Linked DNA regions of Homo sapiens: region 1 is linked to region 2. The links are contacts of gene promoters, found by promoter capture Hi-C in human tissues and cell types (Jung and others, 2019). All regions are on one chromosome and are shown on one strand. The core of a region is centred on a gene start or on the middle of the fragment in contact, and the rest is flanking DNA. Distances in the headings are between cores, read along the strand shown. Region 1 has its middle 210 kb from the start of LINC02855. Region 2 holds the start of HAS2 (hyaluronan synthase 2).

Region 1 (3,294 bases), core at 124-2,623, 260 kb after region 2:
TATAATTGGAAATCTCAGAATTGCATTTTCATGAAAGAAGATGAAGATACCAAATGCCTTACTAAGAGTATTTATTTGTTTGTCAGTTATTTGCATGGAAATGTGGTAAAGAGAGAGCAATGCCTGGGACTGGGTGTTAGCATTAGTAAGTCAGAGAAAAACCTTCTTTGTAAGAAGTTATATACGAAGTTGTCAACTTTAATTTAGCATAAATTAATAACTGAAGACTGAAACAAAACACAGATGGCATAGAGTCAATCTGGAGTCTTCTAGAATCCTTTATTAAAAGAAAAAACCCATGAGAGAAAAGTAAAGATTGGAGGTCTCAAATCACAGTAATTGTATTACTCAAATCACAAATTCCTCCTTAACTCGACACTTAACTCGATGGAATTTTCATGATGTCAAAGCATGTAGATAGTTGGATAATTAGAAATGAGAATAAAGAACAGCTTAATGAATAACAGAATCTTTGACTTGTCATCCAGATGTTTTGATCCAATAATGTACACATATTTTATTGTGGATGATAGTAATTTGGCTTCAATATGTTACATAAAATATTTTTAAAAGATTAATATTATATACAAATATTTCAGTGTATTAACATCTAGCACTCATCTTTGTAATCATCAACAATTCGGACATTTTCTACTGTAAGCATTTTGCCATGCTCAATGTTTCCTTGCCTTGAAGAGGCAGATGAAACAGACCCCTAATCTTACTCAATGTCCATAGGTTGTGCTTGTGAGTATCGGGAAGAGGAACAGTCTCTTGTAATGTGTTTCTTACCGAAAATATCAATGACTCCAGCCAAATTTTTTGTTCTTATTGAGCCTCAGTTGTTTTTTTCTCCTAAATAAATAAAGGCATTAGAAGTAATAACTATAACACCAATACTTTTTGTTGTAAGTGGCAGAAGCCTAGCTAATAATAACTTAAATATAGGCTTATGTTTCTTACATAAGTGGTTTGGAGATGAGTAATCTAACGCATGGCCGGTGGCTCTATGATACTCACTATTCCTAGCTGTTTGCTTGTCACCTCATGGTCATAAAGTGGCAGCTACGGCTCCACACTTTGCACCTACATTCAATTCAGCTGCCTGCTATGCTAGTTTCTTATATCAGGAATTTTTTTTAAAAAATTAGATTTTGTCTTACATATCGCCACCAGAAATATGTCATATGGCAACCTCTAGCTGAAAAAGGAAATGCGAAAACAAATAGAGACCTGGGCACATTTTTGCCCCAAAACAAAAAGAGGTTCTGTTTGCAAGGAGAAGGTGGAAAGTGACTATTTGGTATGCATCCATTTCTGCCACAGAGACTACCAAGGTCCCTTTCAGCTTCAAAATTGTGATGGAGAAAATTATGCCAGATAAAGTTTAATGCCATAGGCAAGCTAGTGTTGGGAAATCTTTGTCCCATTCTTGTGACTGGAGAGTTGCCTGGAACTGAGAAGATCCCTTTGGGTCCTCTTATTCATGATTACAAAATATAACTTTCACCTAAAAAATTTACATGATTAAAAGAAGTAACTTACACCAAAAGTATCAGGATTGCTTCTAAGTTCCTGGAAAGATTATCAGCACGACTGCTAAGATTTGTGAGCTCTGTGAGAAAATTTCTGCACAATTTCCAATTAAATTAGCTGTTGTCAAGATGTTGCGTTTTTAATATGGTGGCCAGATGTATCTTTTTATTCTGATCATATATTTTTCTGCTTTTCTGAAAATGGTTATAGAGTAATTTTTTTTAAATTCCAGGTTTGACTTTCTAGATTGCTCCAATTTTCCGTGTGTGTGTGTGTGTGTGTGTGTGTGTGTGTGTGTGTTTAATAACTGTAAATAAAACTACCATAGGGTTTTGAAAGCTCAACATACAGAAACAAAACTTAGCTAGATTTAGAAGTGTTCCGATATCTTATTGGCTATTCTCTTTTGCCAAATAATTAAAATCAAAGAAGTGTGCATGAATATAGGAAACTTTAGGGTATTCAACCATTCACTAAACAAATATTTATAAAGTACCTATGTTTATTATGTGCTATATGGCAGGTACTGTTTTAGGCTGTAGGATTATAGTGATAAACAAGGTGGAACAAATTGTTGCTTTTATGAAGCTTATATTTTAGTGAATATATAGAGGTAAAAAGTAATGAACACTCAGAGCAATAGAATAGAGAGTGACTAGGTGTATGAGTCTGTTCTCGTGCTGCTAAGAAAGGCATACCTGAGACTGGGTAATTTATAAAGGAAAGAGGTTTATGAACTCACAGTTTCACATGGCTGGGAAGGCCTCACAATCACGGTGGAAGGCAAAGGGGAAGAAAATCACGTCTTATATGGTGGCAGCCAAGAGGGTTTGTGCAGGGGAACTCCCATTTATAAAACTATCAGATCTCGTGAGACTTATTCACTGTCACAAGACCAGTATGGGGGAAACCACCCCCATGATTCAATTATCTCCACCTGGCCCTGCCCTTGACATGTGGGGATTATTACAATTCAAGGTGAGATTTGGGCGGGGACACAGACGAACCATATCACTAGGCAAGGTGAGTGTAGGGTGCAGTTTGAGATAGAGTGTTCAGTAGAGGTATTTCAGTGACTTTTGAACTAAAGACTAATGTTTCTTTCCTCTATTTACCCCAGTTTACTTACTTTGCAGGATCATTCTTAAATATAACTCTTTGTAAAAGTTTTTATCCTCACACAGATAATTGAATTATTAATCATTTTTTCTACCTAATTCCTAGTACACACCTTAGGAAGAATCCAAAGTTTTTGGAAGTTGATACACATTTACTTTAGGGGGAACCCTCTTTAGAAAAAAAATACTGTAATTGCAATTAACAGCTAAATTTAAATGCAAATATGTGTTTATACTAAGAAAAAGTACAACAAAGTTGGATTTTTAAAACCTGAGAAATACAAAGAACATCACAAAATTCAAAAAAGTAACAATATTTTTATTAACTAATTGGTCAGCACACCTCTATACCCATTTTCCACATATATTTTGACTGCAGTTTTTGTTAAAATTGTCATAACTCAATAACTTGTTAACATTTTCTATAAAAAATGAAGAAAGATGATTCAGCTTTGCCTCTGGCATGAGAAATCAAATTTTTAATGTATATTTAGAGTGCATAAAATATGCATGTTCCCACAAAATGTACTCTCACTTTACACTATAGATTGTGTTCACAAACACACACACACACACACACACACACAAAATCTTCTAGTGATGAATTAAAAAGAGAAAACAGAACAATTTGATTTTTATT
Region 2 (3,310 bases), core at 682-3,181:
GTTTGGGGGACGGAGGGAGAGGCGCTAGGGGAACTGGCACCTAAGACTGTGTAATAGGACACAGGTCTTGCAAGTCCTCCTCCCCAGGCACCGCCCCTGTGCTCCCAGCGCCTCTTTGCAGCTTTAATTATCCTTTCAGCGCCGTTCCCCCGCGGCTGCGTTTCCGTGGTCAGAGGAAAAAGGCTCTTTCGCCTCCCGGTTCTCACCCTCATACAGACCCTCCTTTCAGACCCGCCCTCCTGTTCACAGGGACCCATTTCGGAGCCCTGGCTCACGCTGGGCGGGAACTGCCGTGACGAATTCCCCCCAAGGTGTTGATTATCCATCCCAACCCAGCCTCTGGCTTCCCTCCCACCTCCACCCCAGCTCCCACAGGCCCCTCGCCCCGTTCATCGGCTGGGCGCTCGAGACGGCGCCCCCAGATCTCCCACCGGGCAGTGTCCCCAGCTGCAGCTGAGGAGAGAAGCGCCGGCGTGCGCGGTGCCACGTCGGAATTGGCTCTGGGGACGCCGCAGCTGCCGAAGCGCAGCGCGCGGTCCCCACGCACGCCCTGCCTCCGGGCGGCCGGCGGGCTGGCCCGGCGAGGAGAGGAGGGATGCGCGCCCTCCTCCCGCTCCTATCTGCGGGTGCCACCGCCTGCGTCAGGGACCCCTGGCCCGAGTAAGCCCAGACTGACGAGCCTGACACTTTAATGGGGTGCGGGAAGTGCAAAGGAGGGGAGGCCCGGGAAAGGGGGGAGTGGCCGAGAGGGGATGGTAGCTGCGAGGAGGTAGAGAAGGACCCTCCTTCTCCAGGGTCCCAGCTTGTCGGAGCTGGAAGCCCAGATTGCTTAACCCTTTGCATTCCCAGCAAGAAGCGACTTTTTCACTTAGAAGTAAAACGCGCTGGGCTATTCCAGTTTTTCTCCCCACAGTGTGTGTGTGTGTGTGTGTGTGTGGGAAAAAAAGAAGGGAAGGGGTGGGGCGGCTGTGCAGAATGCATTTTCCTTACATTGGGAATTCTTGTTTCCTAACTCTGGAGCCCCTCTGCTGCTCCGGAAGATGCAAAATGGAAAAGTACATCTGAGGACGTGCAGCCTTTCCCAGGCAGAGAGGCTACCTGTGTCCCCAGAAAGGCAGCGGATTTCTGGCGAGAGCCGCAGAAATGGGAAAAGAGGGCTATGTTGCTAAGCCTGACAGTGACCTGAAATATTCCCTGATCTTCAGTCTGTTGGAAATTTTTAAACTTCCAACTTTTCTATCGAAACTGGCTTAAAAATTTTAAAACAATTATAAGGATGTCTTCCTTCTCCCTGGCCTGTTGGAGGACCTTCATCCTTCACCAAAACGCGCCAGTGTAACGTACCTTGTTCAGCTCTTGGTCATAAAGTCGTCCTCAGCCTGTCTGTGTGGTCCCGGAGGGTCGGTGGCGGGCAGTTTCCAAAATTGAGGTAATAAGAGATCAGATGAATTTGAGACGACCGGCCAAAAAAAATAAGAAATTTAAAAACAACATTTAAAAAGGATAGGGGAGTCTTAAATGTTTGATTCTTCCCCACTTTAAAAAATAATTTCACTAATATTCTCTTTATGTTTCCGTTGCACTTCAGTCTAATTCTTAAAAAAATTATGCTTTAAAAATAAATTAACTTTTCTTTTTTCTTTTCTTTTCTTTTTTTTTTTTTTTTTTTTTTGGGCTTCAGTCTTTCTGCCCCCGATAACAGAAAATCTCTTTTTCGTCTTAAAAAAAAAAAAAAAAAAAAAAAAAGCCTGTGGAAGACTCAGCAGAACCCAGGAAGCGCAGAATTGGGAGAAAAGTCTTTGGCTGGGGCTGTTTCAAGTCTCTGGTTCAATGGGCTGCTCGAAGCCAGGACTGGGTAATTCTTTCCAGACGTCTTGACTTCTCCTTCCCCGCCGTTGTTGCCCTTCTGCCTCCTCCAACTTAAGGGGGTCTTAACAAGTGAGCTGGTGGGTGTTTTAATAGGGCGGCGGAGGGAGTGGGGGGGTGAGGGAAGTGGAGAGGGAGGTGTGGACTGGGGAACCCTGAGGGGAGGGAACTGGGAGCGCGGGCGGGCGGGCGAGCGGGAGGCGGGGAGGGGGAGAGGGAGAGAGAGAAATTGGCCATTCAAAGCCTTCTCTGAGCTACAGGCCGGTTCTAAACTCCAATGAATTCAATTAACTTGATTGCTAACGTGTGCAGAGAAATGCAAGACACATAGGGGGCCACCACCTGATTCCTTACTTTCCTCTGGCGGCGGAGGTGGGAGCCCTCGCCTCTTGGATTTCCCTGAACTCCCGCGTTACAAGTTCCCTCCAAGCGATAAACTCCCTGTGGCGCTGAAGTAATTTGTTTTAAAGCCAAATGGTGCCCTTCAGCTAAGTAACCGACCCAAGGAGGAACAGTTGGGAGGGGTGTGTGCACGTGTGTGTGTGTGTGTGTAAGTGTGTGCGTGTGTGTGTGTACCTGGAGCCTTCGACAGCCGGCTGGGACTCTAAAAAGATCGCGCTGGTCCACCACTTGTTAACCCTTTCTTCCCGCCAACTCAAAAGTTTCTGAGCTGACGTCAAGTGTCAAAGCCTTTCTCATAAAGAGGTTTCTGCCGTGGGTGGGCGGAAAACATAGAAAAGTAATTATATGTATATTTTTGCTCAATCTGGTCCCCTAACGTAAACATACTCAAACAGCGCGCATTAAAAATAAAATAATAAAAATTGTTTTCTGGAGGACTTATATTTAGCCATCTTGAAGGAAATGGCTTAACTGGCTTTTGCTTTTTGCAAGCCTTCTGCAAAGTTGACGAGGACAAATATGTCTTGCTTGGAGATGGCCTTTCCTCGTCGTTTTCACAATGCCCCAAGGCTGGGTAGAGTTCGTTTTTTGGTTACTCCTCCCCCCACCACTCCGCCTCCTTTCTTTCTCTTGGACCTTGCCAACAAGCCTGCTGATGACTGAAAATGGACAGTAGGTGGCACTGTTGAGGAAAAAATGAGAGTGACTTTACAAATTAACCAACTTGGTCTTGGGAGATTGCGCTGAAATTGTTATAGGGTAAAACAGATTTTTCTTTCTTTCTTTTTTCCTTCTTCCCCTTCCAAGGATCTTCTGAGGGGTGGACTTCTTTGGAACTCGACAGGACCTTGAAGACTGGGTTCTTAGTCCTTATCACATATATGGGCTATAATGAATAAGTCTAAACAGAAAAGTCGAATAAACTGGAAATGATGCTTTCATCACGTCGCACAAGGTGTAGTGTTGGGGGATGTGATTAGGGGTCAAGCATTTTAGTGCAATACCAGGTAGTCAGCCATCCCAGTCCCCAGGGGCTGACCTG

What was found. The method cuts DNA at HindIII sites, captures the fragments that hold promoters and counts their contacts. A contact is called where the count stands out against the background at its distance.
Region 1: a contact is called between a fragment that was not itself captured here and the fragment with the promoter of HAS2 in region 2, in 1 of the 25 tissues and cell types used here (mesendoderm cells).

The regions. Positions count from the first base shown.
Region 1 is chr8:121,904,301-121,907,594 of GRCh38, forward strand. No RefSeq gene overlaps it. Among named protein-coding and RNA genes, the nearest start is that of LINC02855, 210 kb to the left of the region's middle. The HindIII fragment of the contact is 3,794 bases long and covers 1-3,270 here.
Region 2 is chr8:121,639,509-121,642,818 of GRCh38, forward strand. It overlaps HAS2 (hyaluronan synthase 2), which reads right to left and starts at 1,932. Exons shown (of 4, transcript NM_005328.3): 1 at 1,345-1,932. It also overlaps HAS2-AS1. RefSeq lists enhancers at 1-389, 2,591-3,214. The HindIII fragment of the contact is 13,134 bases long and covers 1-3,310 here.